Linked DNA regions of Homo sapiens: all the other regions are linked to region 3. Evidence: promoter capture Hi-C in 16 types of primary human blood cells and fetal thymus (Javierre and others, 2016). All regions are on one chromosome and are shown on one strand. Each heading gives the region's core, a stretch centred on a gene start or on the middle of the fragment in contact. The rest is flanking DNA. Distances are from core to core; before and after follow the strand shown. Region 1 overlaps MAP3K5 (mitogen-activated protein kinase kinase kinase 5). Region 2 overlaps PEX7 (peroxisomal biogenesis factor 7). Region 3 holds the start of MAP3K5-AS1 (MAP3K5 antisense RNA 1).

Region 1 (2,828 bases), core at 292-2,791, 150 kb after region 3:
CATGCCTAAGCCTCCCAAGTAACTGGGACCACAGGCGGGTGCCACCACACCCAGCTAATTTTTCTATTTTTAGTAAAGATGGGGTTTCTCCACGTTGGCCAGGCTGGTCTCAAACACCTGGTCTCAAACATCAGGTGATCTGCCTGCCTCAGCCTCCCAAAGTGCTGGGATTACATTACAGGCATGAGTCACCATGCCCCGCCGTCCATCTTTAAATGCCAGTGTTTCCTTAGTTCTATCATAGGCCTTCTCTTTATCCTACCCCTTCCTTATGGAGAGACTCATTTTTTCCATGATTTATTATAAAATGCCTGGCACATGTTAAGTGCTCAATAAATGTTAGCTTTCATCATTATCCTTCAAAACCCAGTTCAAATGTCACCTCCTGTCCAATGTCTTAGCCAACCTCCTCCACACTTCCTTCTCCTCCTGAAGAATCCTCCATGATTTGTGCTCTCAAAGAACCTTACATAAACCTCTAGTATAACAATTAGCACCAGCCTAGGCAACATGGCAAAACCCCATCTCTACAAAAAAAGAATTAAAAAATTAGCCAGCATGGTGGCACACACCTGTGATCCCAGCTACTCAGAAGGCTGAAGTGGGAGGATCGCCTGAGCCCAAGGAGGTTACGGCTGCAGTGAGCTGTGATCGCACCACTGCACTCCAGCCTGGGTGACAGAGTGACTCAGTCTCAAATTTTTTAAAAAACAACAACAACAAACAATTAGCACAATATATATAATACGTTCATAGGCTGGTCTCCCTTACCAGACTGTGAGCCGCTCCAGGAAAGGGATGACATCATTGAATTGTATTCTACAAACATCATTAAGTGTCATCTACAGGTCACACACTGATACAGAAGACCTGGGGCATGTCAAGAACCATAAAATGTGATCTTTGTCATTAACTCACACTTAAGCAGAAAAAGCAGACATCAAAACCAATAACTAAAACACCACTGGGGGGAAAGTGTGATATTCATTCAATCAATCAATCTGTATCAAGTGCCAAGCACTCCATTAGGTACTAGAGGTGCAGGGTTAACAAGACAGAAAAAGAGACATGGAACTATATTCTAATGATTCTTTAAAAAACCAGAAACTGCTCCTTGTTTGTCAGATGTTTCTAACAAAAGGTTTTTCATTATTGTGTAAATTGGACTTGACTTTTTCAGTTGTTCCTTCTTAGTCATATCACGTATGATGCAAGACCTATGGAGCAACAGCTTTCTTTATATCTCCCAAAGAATCAAGCATGATTTGAATACTGAATCCTTAAAGCAAATCAAAATTTATTTAACAGCCTTCAGAGGTCATTTCAAGAGGGAATAGATAGGGCTGCTAACAGAAATATGAATTAAAAAAAAATTCAGATCTTAGAGAATAAAAATAGAAGGATAAATAGTTCCAAGATTATTCATACCTTAAAAGAAAAAGAATGCTAAGGTCAAGCTTATAAGCAACTAGGCAATGTGCTGGATTCAGGAAGAAATTTACCTGGTGACCACATATTAGGTATAGATTATGGCTCAAAAGTTGGGTAATACTTTTTGCTGTGGCTAAATGGGACAATGACAAGTCTTGAAAAAATAATTCTCATAGACTAAATATTAAGTCATTAGAAGCTTGTAACCTAGTCCAGGTCTCAAATTAGGCTTTCGGCACGTAGACCAGGTAACTGAAAACTGAAAGCAGATGAGAGTCTCGAATTCTCCTGTCATAGCCTTTTTCTTCTTCTATGCTCTCAGAAAACCTCCTCATATTAAATGTGGCATATCCTCTGGCACAGAACTCTTTGGGTAACATGCACCTAACTCCCCTGATAATAAACCATGGAGAATAACCCAAAGAACATACAGTGTGAAAACAGAAAAATCATGATTGCTTCATACATCCACTCCTGCAAACTTAGTCCAATGTGTCTAATGATGTTTTTAGAGGAACATACAAGCCTATTAAATAGTTGTGGCCTGGGAAAACTAAGGCATGGCAATATACAAATACCACAGTGCAATTTTGCTTGAAAATTCTCAAGCGATGTCACAACACGGTGGCAACAGCTTTTGTGTGTACAATGCATTCCCTTCTGGGATCACTTGAAGATGAGATCTGGCCCTTCTTGGGCTACTTCAAATTAGAAGTTAACTTGCCTGCAAACAGGTAATGATAAGAAGATCCAATCCTGAATAATCAAGAGATTATCCATCAAGAAGAGTGTTCATTATTTAACATGATAAAAACCTATTTCGTTAATAAAACCTACACTAAGTGGAGAGTCCTGAGTTCTATGAAGCTTGGAAATTGTGAGGCTGTACTTTCTCATTACTTATGTATATTTCACCCAGCAGTGAAAATGTCTCTTCAGGTAAACCAAGGAGATACATCAATATCTTAATTTTAGTTCCAAGTGTATACACGATTCGTCTAAAGTAGAAGAGTGTCACTTGTATGCTATTATGGTTTTGGGGTTGTCTTTTATTTTTTATTTATTTATTTATTTTTGAGACAGGACATTGCTGTCACCCAGGCTGGAGTGCAGTGGCGCAATTATGGCTCACTGCAGCCTCTGCCTCTCTGGCTCAAAGTGATCCTCCCACCTCAGCCTCCTGAGTAGCTGGGACTACAGGTGTGTACCACCACAACCAGCAAATTTTTATATTTTTTGTAAAGAAGAGGTCTCACCACGTTGCCCATTCTAGTCTTGAACTCTTGTGCTCAAGCGATCCACCAGCTTCTGCCTCCCAAAGTGCTGGGATTATAGGCATGAGCCACTGCACCTGGCTGCTATTAAGGTTTAATCTTCTTAAAGATTTCACAAATGGG
Region 2 (2,700 bases), core at 187-2,686, 210 kb after region 3:
TTTCTTTGTAGTTTTTAAAAAAATTGCAACTTGAAATTATACATTTATTTATAGCATGTTTGCTGCTGCTAAAATATAAGATCCATGGGGGCTGGTCTTATCTAAAATTGTAACCTCCTTTCCCCCCGTGCCTAGTACATAGTAGGTGCTCAATAAATATTTGTTGAATAGATGAGTGAATTGATTGAAGTTGGGATAATGGAATTCATTCTTCCCTTTTCAGCTGTTTCTCAAACATCTCTCTGGCTGTGAACTTTTTTCAGAGCTTGAGGTTAATGCCCAAACCCTGTCTTGCTGTCACCTCAAACTCAGTATATATAAAATTACATTATTTTCCTTCCTCCAGTCTTTCACTTTTGTTAATGCTGCCATCACTGACAGTCCTCAGGCACAAAACCTTGGTGTTATCTTGCAGTGTTCACTACCCCCGATCCCTAGGGTGCTGTATATTCCCATTTATGTGTTTGAGGAAGTTTTCTGGTTACTGTTTCACCTCTGCTTTTTGCCTATTGACATTTTAGCCAGCCCTCAGGGCCCTGCCTCAGTCTTTCTCTTCTGAGCACGAAGCTGAATTTCCATCCAAGCACCCCTTTTGTACTTATGTTTATAGTTTGTTTTGTTTTGTTTTTGAGACAAGGTCTTTCTCTGCTACCCAGGCTGGAATGCAGTGGCGTGATCACTGCTCACTGCTGTCTTGACCTTGACCTTGTGGGCTCAAGCCATCCTCCCACCCCAGCCTCCTGGGTAGCTGGGACTACTGTTATAGGTCACCACACCTGGCTAATTTTTAAAATTTTTTATAGAGACGGGGGTCTCGCCATATTTTCCAGGCTGGTCTCGAACTCGTGGCCTCAAGCGGTCCTCCTGCCTCGGCCTCCCAAAGTGCTGGGATTACAGGCATGAGCCACCGTGCCTGGTGTAATTACTCTTTTTTTAAATTAAAAAAAAAAACCCACACAGTCTCCTGATCTGTTAGTTCCTTTCCCATGTCCTAATATTTTAAACATAGTATTGAGTTGCCTTTCTTTTCTTTTTCTTTTTTTTTTTTTTGAGACAGGTTCTCACTCTGTCACCCAGCTTAAAGTGCAGTGGCACAATCTTGGCTCACTACAACCTCCACCTCCTGGGAGCGATTCTCCTGCCTCAGCCTCCTGAGTAGCTGAGACTGCAGGTGCCTGCCATCACACCTGGCTAAATTTTATATGTTTAGTAGAGACGGGGTTTCACCATGTTGGCCAGGCTGGTCTTGAACTCCTGGCCTCAAGTGACCTGCCCGCCTTGGCCTCCCAAAGTGCTGGGATTACAGGCGTGAGCCACCACACTCAGCCTATTTCCTTCTTTATGATCCCATTTTTAACTTCACCACCATGTGTGTCCTATCTTTAGCTCTGTCATAGAGACCTAATGCTTGCTACTTGGTTGTGCAACAGAAGACAGCTGACAGCAACAATGCCATCAGCATGGTTTTCTTACCTTCTATCTTTGATGTTGATTCAGGCTGGATTCTCTTGAGCCGGTGGAGGCTCCTGCAGTTTTAGAAGGTGAGTAGTCATAAGGTGTCACCTGCTGCATCACACTGGAAATGTGTGGAGGCAGTGGAGTCTGAGCTGATGATGAGTATTTACTTAGTAGTTCTCTGTACCTACCTAGCAGTGATTCAGGTTGTAAAGAAAAATTTAATTGGTTAAATTATTTTAACCAATGTTTGAGTGCCTATTTTACTGTGATGAACATAGATGTACAAGATGTTTTGCTCATTAGGAGTCTCCAAAATCTAGCAGGTATGTGAGTTATGTAACATTCTTTTTAGTAAATAAAATATGGTAAATGCTGAGTTAGAAGTAGGTGTGAGCTGCTGTTGAAGGCAGCATATGACTCATTGAAGGACTTATCAGGGGAGGCTTATTTCGTAAGGGATGTAATGGGGCACGTCTTGATGGATAAATGGAAATTCACAAGTGGAGAGGGGCTTTAAGATCTGTGTATAGGTAATTCATGAAAACACAGTGGAATCAATCTAGGCCCAAATGTAGCTCCAGTAAAGGGTGAAACCAGCAGGGGTAGAGCTTTAGTTCCTTGATATCATGGCTTAAGGTAGCCAAGAAGTTCTGATTCAACAGTGCCCTCAAGTAGCATGCTGTACAGATAGCCTCACATTGCGATTAAAAGTGGACTCTGCAATTAGGCTGCCCACGTTCAGATTTCATATCTGCACCTTACTAGCTTTGGGACTCTGGACAAGTTACTTAACCTCTCTGGGCCTTGATATAGTATCTACTTCATATAAATGAAGATTAAATGAAATAAAATACATAAAGTGCTTATGAACAGGATCTGACACTCAGAGTGTTCAATAAAGGTTTGCTATTTTTATTTTTGACTGTTTACATCAGCCTAGAGCAGGGGTTGGCAAACTACGTCATGTGGACCAGGACCAAATCTGGCCTGCAGTTAGATTTACAAATAAAGTTTTTTTGGAATCAAGCCATGCGCATTCATTCGGTATTGACTATGGCTGCTTGGTGTGTGCTATAAGAGCTGGGTTTAGTAGTTGTGACAGTGACCAAATAGCCTGTAAAATCTAAAGTATTTACCATATGGCCCTTTATAGAAGAAATGTACCTTTTTTGAAGAAACTTACCATTTACTATATGGTCCTTTGTAGGCGAAATTTAGAGGATAAAATCAAACTCTTTAGCT
Region 3 (2,700 bases), core at 185-2,684:
AAGGTACCATCTAGAGGAAGTAGGCCCTCACCAGACACTGAATCTGCTGGTGCCTTGATCTTGGATTTCTCAGCCTCTGGAACTGTGAGCAAAGCATTTCTATTGGGTATAAATTACCCAGCCTAAGGCATTTTGTTATAGCGGCCTGGATGGACCAAGACAATGCCCTTCAAGATCTTACGGCTACCTCTGTCATCCTCGTCTGGACACTTGAGCTCTTCGAGACTTGGGACTTCATCCTTAATTACTCTATCCCCAGTTTTAGCATGTAGCTTGTAGTAGATGCTCAGTAATTATTTGCTTAACTAATTAATCAAGTTATAGAAAAATGTGATGAGAACTTTTTTAGAAAAGAACTAGATCCCAAAACAAAACATTTAGAGTCATTATTGGTTTATTCTTGGGTGAAAGCATTTTTCCAATAGATATATTTAAATCTTTTTTTTTTTTTAAAGAGTGTTTTGCTCTGTCGCCTAGGCCGGAGTGCAGTGGTGCCATCATAGCTCATTGCAGCCTTGAACTCCTAGGTTCAAGCAATCCTCCCACTTCAGCCTCCTCAACAGCTGGGACTTCAGGTGTACAGCACTATGTCCAGCTAATTTTTTCTATTTTTTGTAGAGATGGGGTCTTGCTATGTTGCCCAGGCTGGCCTTGAACTCCTGGCCTCAACTGATCCTGCTGCCTCGGCCTCCCAACCACTGGGAGTACAGGTGGGAGCCATCATACTCAGCAGTTTTTTTTTTTAAAGAGATGGAGTCCTGCTATGTTACCCAGGCTGGACTCAAAGTCCTGGGCTCAAGTGATCCTCCCAAATAGCTGGGACTCAGGTGCACACCACCAGGTCCAGCTCTACAACAGGTATGCTTATATAGAAGAGTGAAGAATACATAAACCTTGATGAGGCTGCTAAAGTTTTAATTTCCCCTAGGAATCTAAGGCATCAGAAGACTATTTTTTAAAAGATTACGTATTAGATACAGATTTAAAAGATTATGTATTAGATATAGAAGATTAGATATAGAAGCTGACTCCTGTTAAACAAAATGGTGATAGTAAAATGAAAAGGAATTGTAAAAAGAGCAGTGTTATTTAAGTAAAACCATCTCTGTGGGTAATTGCTGCTTTGTTTTTCTATCTCCCCTTTCTATTCTTACGAGATAAAGATAGAAATTGAAATGGCAGTTTTGAAAGAAAGCTGAAAAGAAACAAGAGACTGGTTCAGCCTAGAAGGACAGAGAATCATCTATGTAATGTCCAGGAATAGTAGAAGAGAGGGTTTTAAAAAATAAAAGGTAACATTACATTGCTTATATATTTTGCATTCTATTTCTATGGTAATAGGTTAGCAAATCAGGTTGTTGCTAAGGGAAACAAGAATTTCATTCTGAGGCAATCATGAGAATTTTTCTAGAATCATCTCTTTATTGCTGTCTGCTCAGAACAATCAAAACTGGTAGCGGGAAGAGAATCAGTGTAGGAAGGCAACATTGACAAGGCCAAACAACGAAGTGGTGACTCACTGAGTCCTTGCACTCTCGAAGGAAACAACCACCTTAGAAAAAACCATGCACTTTCGGCGGGGGCTTAATCACATTAGGTGAGTAATCACCTCAAAGACCCAAATGGCAGCTCTGTTAATGTTCAGTCTGTATGGCCTTCTTTATATGTAAATGCCAAAACATTAATAACTACTAATAACATTAATAGAATGCCAAAAACACTGCAGGTACAAATATCTAGTGTGATGGATCTCTCCTCCCTTAGATCTTTACTCACATCTCACCTTTTTTTTTGAGAAGGAGTCACGCTCTGTCGCCCAGGCTGGAGTGCAGTGGCACAATCTCAGCTCGCTGCAAGCTCCGCCTCCCAGGTTCACGCCATTCTCCTGCCTCAGCCTCCCGAGCAGCTGGGACTACAGGTGCCCGCCACCACACCCAGCTAATTTTTTGTATTTTTAGTAGAGATGGGCTTTCACCTTGTTAGCCAGGATGGTCTCAATCTCCTGACCTCATGATCCACCCGCCTTGGTCTCCCAAAGTGCTGAGATTACAGGTGTGAGCCATGGCGCCCGGCCATATCTCACCTTCATTTATTTATTTATTTATTTATTTATTTATTTATTTATTTATTTAGAGTCTCACTCTGTCGCCCAGGCTGGAGTGCCTAGGTTCAAGCGATTCTCCTGCTTTAGCCTCCCGAGTAGCTGGGATTACAGGCGCTTGCCACCATGCCCGGCTAATTTTTGTATTTTCAGTAGAGATGGGGTTTCGCCATTTTAGCCAGGTTGGTCTCAAACTCCTGACCTCAAACAATCCAACTCCTCTGCCTCCCAAAGTGCTGGGATTACAGGCATGAGCCACCACACCCGGCCTAAATCTTACCTTCTTAATGAGCTTCCCAGGCCTTCCTATCTAAAATTGCACGTCCCTGCTACACTGTAACTTCCTAAACCCTTCCCTGGTTTATTATTCTCCTTAACCCTGATCACCATCTAACATACTATAGATGGTATTTTACTTATTTGTGTTTATTGTCCGTCTCTCATTAGAAAGTAACCTGAGTCTACAGCTATACCACCCTGAATGCGTCCAATCTCTTCTGATCTCGGAAGCTAAGCAGAGTTGGGCCCGATTAAGACTTAGATGAGAGCATGTAAGCTCTCAGTGATAGCAGGAATTTCTCTCCATTTTGTTCTCTGCC

What was found. The method cuts DNA at HindIII sites, captures the fragments that hold promoters and counts their contacts. A CHiCAGO score of 5 or more calls a contact.
Region 1: a fragment that was not itself captured here is called in contact with the fragment with the promoter of MAP3K5-AS1 in region 3 in 8 of 17 cell types (total CD8 T cells, naive CD4 T cells, naive CD8 T cells and 5 more); the score reaches 7.0 in total CD8 T cells.
Region 2: a fragment that was not itself captured here is called in contact with the fragment with the promoter of MAP3K5-AS1 in region 3 in 4 of 17 cell types (non-activated CD4 T cells, naive CD4 T cells, activated CD4 T cells and 1 more); the score reaches 5.9 in non-activated CD4 T cells.

What each region holds. Positions count from the first base shown.
Region 1 is chr6:136,773,757-136,776,584 of GRCh38, forward strand. All of the region lies in intron 1 of MAP3K5 (mitogen-activated protein kinase kinase kinase 5), which reads right to left. Among named protein-coding and RNA genes, the nearest start is that of MAP3K5-AS2, 8.9 kb to the right of the region's middle. The HindIII fragment of the contact is 173 bases long and covers 1,456-1,628 here.
Region 2 is chr6:136,840,967-136,843,666 of GRCh38, forward strand. All of the region lies in intron 3 of PEX7 (peroxisomal biogenesis factor 7), which reads left to right. Among named protein-coding and RNA genes, the nearest start is that of PEX7, 20 kb to the left of the region's middle. The HindIII fragment of the contact is 3,230 bases long and covers 1-2,700 here.
Region 3 is chr6:136,627,680-136,630,379 of GRCh38, forward strand. MAP3K5-AS1 (MAP3K5 antisense RNA 1) reads left to right here and starts at 1,435. Exons shown (of 3, transcript NR_125858.1): 1 at 1,435-1,597. All of the region lies in intron 14 of MAP3K5 (mitogen-activated protein kinase kinase kinase 5), which reads right to left. It also overlaps the pseudogene RNA5SP219. The HindIII fragment of the contact is 14,560 bases long and covers 1-2,700 here.